Linked DNA regions of Homo sapiens: region 1 is linked to region 2. Evidence: promoter capture Hi-C in human tissues and cell types (Jung and others, 2019). All regions are on one chromosome and are shown on one strand. The core of a region is centred on a gene start or on the middle of the fragment in contact, and the rest is flanking DNA. Distances in the headings are between cores, read along the strand shown. Region 1 overlaps RDX (radixin). Region 2 holds the start of COLCA1 (colorectal cancer associated 1).

Evidence for each region. The method cuts DNA at HindIII sites, captures the fragments that hold promoters and counts their contacts. A contact is called where the count stands out against the background at its distance.
Region 1: a fragment that was not itself captured here is called in contact with the fragment with the promoter of COLCA1 in region 2 in 1 of the 25 tissues and cell types used here (mesendoderm cells).

Annotation. Positions count from the first base shown.
Region 1 is chr11:110,270,815-110,274,260 of GRCh38, forward strand. RDX (radixin) reads right to left here. Exons shown (of 14, transcript NM_002906.4): 3 at 1,722-1,805. Among named protein-coding and RNA genes, the nearest start is that of RDX, 24 kb to the right of the region's middle. The HindIII fragment of the contact is 6,004 bases long and covers 1-3,446 here.
Region 2 is chr11:111,303,129-111,306,904 of GRCh38, forward strand. COLCA1 (colorectal cancer associated 1) reads right to left here and starts at 1,920. Exons shown (of 2, transcript NR_169237.1): 1 at 1,700-1,920. POU2AF3 (POU class 2 homeobox associating factor 3) reads left to right here. Exons shown (of 5, transcript NM_001271458.2): 3 at 1,800-1,854; 4 at 3,266-3,495. The HindIII fragment of the contact is 15,057 bases long and covers 1-3,776 here.

The DNA of each region.
Region 1 (3,446 bases), core at 746-3,245, 1.0 Mb before region 2:
ACAATACCAAAGAGGATAACTTGCTGATTAGTTTTTGGCTGCCACAAACATCTCACTTACTATAAATAACATTTCAATTTGCTATGAAGTACAATAAATGCTAACTCTATTCACATTTTTTTCAAATAAGATAGACTGTATATTCACAAACAGGAGGCACAGAAGAATCAACAGAAGTGGATATTATACCAGAACAAAAGTGGTTTGGAAAAAAGAAAAAAGTGGAGATTGGTTCACAAGGTGTGGTGAACTTAGCTCTTTATGATTTTGCTTTAAAATTTTGCACATCCACACAAAAAGCTTTTCATGATCCAAAAAGGCCTTATCAGGACTTTTAAATTTATGAATTACCAAATCAGGAGATTAAGTATATTACTTGTCAGGAGAATAAACAACTTTAGAGAATTTAGAATTTTTATTTCATCAGATTTGAATCTGTATTTGACAGAATGACAACTAACAAAACCAAAGTATCTAGTGTTACTTACTGCTGAAATGCTAGAAACTCTTTCCTTCTTTAAGATCAAGTTATTCTGACTACAGGCTATTGCTCTCCTGCTCCTAAGAAAAAGTGTACGTGAAGTTTATATAAAAGTTATCCTCCTCTAAGTTTCATGCCACACATGATATATACCACCTTCCTCTGTCTTTGCAACAGTTTCTTCATGTTCTTACTTAATCCCTGGGGCCAATCCCTTACCTCGTTTTCTCAGCAAAACTTGCTTACATTGCAATACAACATTATCTGGGAAGCTTAAATTTTAAAATACTGATAATTTAGAGTAGGCCCAGACAATTAAATCAGCATCTCTGGAAGGGGTTTCCAAGCACTGTCTCCTTTCCCTTTTTTTAAAGCTCCACAGGTGACTAATACGCACTCAAGACTGAGAAGAAAGATAAGATCAGTAGTCCCAGTTCCTTAACATACCGGATACCTGACCTCCATATCCCAACCTTTGCCTCATACATTATGAACCTATGACACCAAATTGTTGTTAGGGATCTCTGTATAGCCTATACAGGTTGAGCATCCCTAATCCAAAAATCCAAAATCCTAAATGCTGCAAAATCTGAAACCTCTTCAGTACCAACATGACTCTGCAAATGGAAAGTTCCACACCTAACCTAACGTGATGGGTCGCAGTCAAAACTCAGTATGCATAAAATTATTTAAAGGATTTTATAAAATTACCTTCAGCCTATGTGTATAAGTTGTACACAAAACATAAATGAATTTTGTGTTTAGACTTGGGTCCCATCCCCAAGATATCTCATTATACATATGCAAATATTCCAAAATCTAAAAACATCCAAAATCTTCTGGTCCCAAGCATTTTGGATAAGAGATGCTCTCAACCTGTAATTCCCTATGCCTTTCACTCCTGCTGTTCCTTCTGCCCAGGATTCCTACTCATTTCACTCAACAACTTTGTGGATTATCCTTGAATCCCTTTTAGTCACCATTACAATGATTCTCATAAATGTTAAATAAATACCTGCTGAAAATTATTTTCAAGAAGTCCTCTCCCACAAATGTAGGAATGTGAAAGAATAAAGAATATCCCTACTGCTGTAGTAGGGATATCTGAATAGCTACTATGAAAAATTCCAAGTGGTACACTGTTGGATTATCAGCAAAAGTACAGAAAAACAGAGAAAGAGGTATGCAACAACATTCACACTATGGTGTCAAAAGTTGCATATTTCATGCAGTGTAATACCTGGTCAAAAAGTTGTTTGCCAGTTGTATTGGGCTGAATGGCAAATTCCAGCTCAGCATCCATTGTAGTTACTCTTACGTTGATCTGTAATAAAAATAAAAGGAATAATAAGTAGAAGAGAAGTTATTAGGCGTGAGAAAACTTTTATGATTTTCTTTATTAAAGTGATAAAGTTTTATTTTAATCACAAGAAATCTTAAATCTATTTGAAAAACAAAGAGCTTATAAAGTCCTCATTTAGGAACATCTATTGAATACTTAACATATACTGGGCACTAAGCTATGGGCTTTCCATACTCTCATTTAGCCCTTGCTATAATACTAGGAGATACTACCTTTATTTCTACAGAAACGCAAAGAGTTTCCATTATTCACCTAAGGACACGTGGATATTAAAAGGCAGAGCAAGAGCTGGACATGGTGCCTCACATCTTTAGTCCCAGCACTTTGGAAGGCCAAGGTGGGAGGATCTCTTGAGGTCAGGAGTTTGAGACCAGCCTGGGGAACACAGCAAGACTATGAAAAATTTAAAAATTAGTTGGGTGTGGTGGCATGTGCCTGTTATTTCCAGGAAGCTGAGATGGGAGGATCACTTGAGCCTAGGAGTTTGAGGGCTGCCGTGAGCTATGATTGTACTACTGAACTTCAGCCTGCACAACAGAGCAAGACCCTGCCTCCAAAAACAAAGCAAAACAAAAAAGGCAAAGGAGGTATTTAAATTGAGGTCTAACTCCAAATTCTTTGAATGTGATTCACTATCCCATATTTCTTTCAACATGAAAATCAGATTTCATTTTATTCATACTGTAAATACATTATTCGCTTTAGGAAAGCATTTATCTACAGTGCTTTATTTGCTAGATTCTATTTTTTGTTGTTTTTAGAGACAGGGTCTCACTATGTTGTGCTCAGGCTGGAGAGCACTGGCCATTCATGCGTGCAATCATGGCACACTGCAACCTTGATCTCCTGGACGCAAACCTATACTCCCACCTCAATCTACCAAGTAGCTAGGAGCACAGGCGTGTGCCGCCAGGCCTAGCTCCAAACTCTATTTTAAATAATAATTTTATTGTGTAAATACCTAATATCTCAAAAACTTAACACGCCTTACCAAAATAATTTTACCACAGAATAGCATCTTCACCTAGAATTCTTCACATGATCCAAATATATCTTTTTAGCTTTTTAAATTATTTTATCTTTTATTAACTTATTTCTCCTTTAATTTTCCCACACTTCATTTGCTGTTTCTGTATCGATTTTCTAACAATCTTTACTTTTCCCTTAACCAGTATAAACCTGTAGCGATTCCTACTAACACTGTTTCTGTAACAACTGTATTTAAAATTTTATATTAATACGTATTACTGCATTTGTTTTTATGTATCTTTTTCCATCAGCCTGTAGGTTTACTGAGGACACAGCTTGTGCCATTTTATCTAACTTTAACTCACACTATAAAAACTCTAAATCAGACTTCTTATTTCCCCATATGTCTAACAATCACAACCTCAGCACATTATAGCTTTCACCTGGAATAACTTCTGTAATCAGATCTTACAGATTCATCCTTCTTTAAAATAATCTTATTTTTTTCTTTTCTAAAACTGTATCTTATTAAGAAATGATATATACAAAACATCTATCATATATAAACAATGAAGAATAATAAAACGAAACCCATAAATCTACCATCCAACTGAATAACAAGAAATGGTAAAT
Region 2 (3,776 bases), core at 670-3,169:
TAAAGAATTCAAATATTCTTCAAGCAGTGCCGGAAGAAACTGTGTGTATGCCGGATTGGAACACTCGATTTTAAAAAACTTATTTCAGCCAGATCAATTTGCAAACATGCGCATGCACGCACACACACAGACACACACACACTTGCCTTTGGGGTAAAAGGAAACTTGAGTTAGTCGTTATCAAAAGATATCATTTACCTTTCTTTTTTTAAATCATTAATTTTTTAAACAGCCTTGATGTGTTTTTATAAATTGTAGACTGTGAATTTTTGTGCTGTTTGAAATCTAAGAGAGAGTTGCCTTTCTTTGTATTCTTGGAGCAAAGTAGAAAGTGAACCCATGACTAGAAAGATAATATCAAGTAGGATATTGTAAACACACCTCAGGGAGATAACATGGGGTGGAGGCAGACAAACAGGCCAATCCGGGGGAGGAATGGAGTTAAGGAAAGCTCTACAATGAGGCAGATTTTTTAATACCCACTCCTTCCAAGTCCTTCAGCTCAAGCTGCAGCCAAATATTTGCATAAAGAGCTGGTAAAGGATTCCAGCTTCCTGGTTCATGACATTACAGCATGGATCGTTTTCAAAATTAATACTGCCTCCTGTTTCAGCAGTGGCTGCCTGCACAGCTCTCCCTGTGGCTCAGAGTATGGGAGTGAGTATGCCCTGTAACCCAAAAGAGGTGTGGTGAGCTCGGCTTCCCAGCACAGAATCACAGAGCAATACGGGTACCTTTAAACTTTAAAGCCACACCTGAAATTTAAAAAAAAAAAAAAAATCCTAAATTACTCAGTATAATTATTAATTCAACTGAAAAATGCAGGCTGCTTTACTTTGAATAGTTAAAAAGAGCAGTCTCATAAACTTTTAAGTATTTAAATACAGTAGTTTAAATAAAAGCAACTTTTATAGATAGTAGTACAAAACATACAAAGTACTGGAATAATTCCCGACCATTAACTAGAATGAAAGTAGGTTCCAACTCACCAACCACAGCTTTAAGAAAATATTTTCTATTTTAATATTTCATGTATACTAAGAACATGTGAATATTTTTAGCTACTCAGAATTAACAAAATTAAGAATTGTGTTCTTTGGGGAAACGACTCCCTAAGGCTAAGTAGCCAGATGGTATATGAAATTTTTGAGAAAAATAATTGACTAAGCCATAGATAGTTGAGATTAAATAAATGTTAGTCCTTAATAATTTTAAATCGAATAGTTTAATAGGAAGCCTTTTGCTGCATTTTCTCAAACTGTTACATTTTTACCACATAAAATTATTTACATTAATTTTTTACTAAAAATTAATCACTTTTAAAATTTAAGTAGAAGAATCTGATATTAGGAAAAAAACTCCCCAAGCAAGCAAACATAAATATTGGATCTAGATAAAACATAATATTGGTTGTATTTAAGAAGTCTGTTTTATGATTCGATTTCAGGTTTTCATTGTTCCAATGCAATTTTCCAGATTGAATCTTAAAAGGATTATAAACGTCAAAAGGCATTTTAAATTCTACACGGACTTAATACACCTACCGCAATTCTATGCACCTGTCTTTCAAATTCTATAAAATATTTGTTGACACTTTCCCTTTCACTTGTTTTTTACAATATATTTTGTACAAAAATTTGTCAAACATTGAAAAAAAAAAAGAAAGCAACTTTTTCTGAGAAGGAAGAATCTGGCTTACCTTATAGCAGAAAGAAACATAGTCCTCATCAAAATGTCTTAGCTTTCCCTTCAGAGCATTTCTTTCAGCCTGCTTCACGGTGATATTCTTGCTTTGACAGCGGTCCGGAGGCAGCAGTGTCCACCTTTCAGACCCAGTTGCACCATCTTCTGCAGGTCAGTACAGCCAGCATTAACAGTTCCCTCAAACACTCTTTCAAAAGTCCATCTCAAAAGTCTTTCAGTCTTGATTCAGGGGTTAAGATAGGCACCACCATTTAATTGGAATCCAACCAATCAGAAGGTGAAAAAGGCATAGTCACTCCACATGCAAGCCCAGCAAGAAAACAAGCATAAATGTTGTCTTCATTTCTGAATTCTCTACTCTCTGCTATATTGTCTCAAGAGTTTGTTCTTCACATTTATTCCAGTTCCTCATCGCCAAGTAACTAAACTGAACTACAAAATCAGAATTGTTCTCAGGAACTTATCTTTTTTTAGTGCACTGTTAGATGGAATACAGAACATCCCAAGACACTCAAATAATGCCTTTGCTCTGTTCCTTTAGTTTCCAGCCGACAGGGGCTTCCCTCCCCTTCTCTGTTCCCAGAAAGCAGTTCAAACAAGTGTAGGTTTTCTCAGCCCAATAAGAATAACTCGATTACATAAACACTCCTACCTCTGCTACTCAACAGCTAAGAGTTTAAGGAGGTCGTATATAAGGAAACCTCTGCCTATGGCCTCTCCCCACTAAATGTGTCACCGTAGCTTCACCTTAAAGGAACTTGAGACCTCAAGAAGAACACAGTGTCCTTTAGTCCCTTTGATGAGCACACTCTAATCCTCTCTTCTTCCAGCATTTACAGATAATTATCACAAATTGGGCCTATTAATAATAAAATGGAAAAGGAGTAATGTTTACTGATTATCTTTGTTTGATGTTTAACAACTTACTTTGATCACATCATGATGTTAACATGTTCACTGAGAAAACATTTTTGCTTTTTGTACTTCCGAGCCAATAGTGTTAATTGGTACTCTATGTTCCTGGTTTCCATGATTATCATTTGCATTCTCATTTAAATCACTTCTCAAAATTCTCTCCTCCAAACTTAAGTTACTGAGTAAGAGTGAAAAGTTCAAAAAAGCAATCACCATAAGTCAAAAGAATTATTTCCCGTAGCATCAGAAGTTTTCTCAAAGCCTCAACAACTTTGTCAGTTACTTCTGAGAGGTTTACGTGAACTGCCGGTAGGGGCTGGATGTCCATGGTTTTACAGCCCAAGAAAGGGGAAGTTTGAGCCATTATTTGACTGTGACACTTGGACACAAATTGGGTCACCATCCTTTTATTTTTGCCCTAACCAGTTTTACAGCCAGTTTCCACATTATTAACCATGTTCATTTCCCTGGAGCTTGAATTAGCTAGGACAACTAAAGAGTCAAAATTGCATTCCCGTTTACTTTTCTGGATTTGTTAAGCCCCCTTTCCCCCTAGACATAGTAAATATTCAGAGTATAGATCTCCATTCAAATCTGTGTTTTGCAATTTTTATGCAAAAACCTGCCTTTTTCCTTTCTCCTCTAGGACTGTATTTTGAGCCTGAACCAATTTCTTCCACGCCCAATTATTTGCAACGGGGAGAATTTTCCAGTTGTGTTTCATGTGAAGAAAACTCAAGCTGCCTCGACCAGATCTTTGATTCCTACCTTCAGACAGAGATGCACCCGGAGCCTTTGCTCAATTCCACACAAAGTGCTCCACACCATTTCCCAGACAGCTTCCAGGCCACCCCTTTCTGCTTTAACCAGAGCCTGGTAATTTTTCTCAGTTCTTTATATACCTGATTGTGTCTAACTATGGGGTAATAGTGCTTTGTGAGTTTGCACCATCCCGTGGGAAATCATACAAAAACTATCAGCAAGGAAATCATCCAAGGAAACAAGCAGAGAAGAATTTAAAAGTCAATGTATAGAAGTAGCCACACACTGCAGGGCATAAACCTTTGGATACACACGTAATTTAGATTTCCCAAGATTTAGATTTTTCGGCCACCAAGTAAGTTGGTGGGTAGCAATAAAAAGAGGTTCCTGGCAAT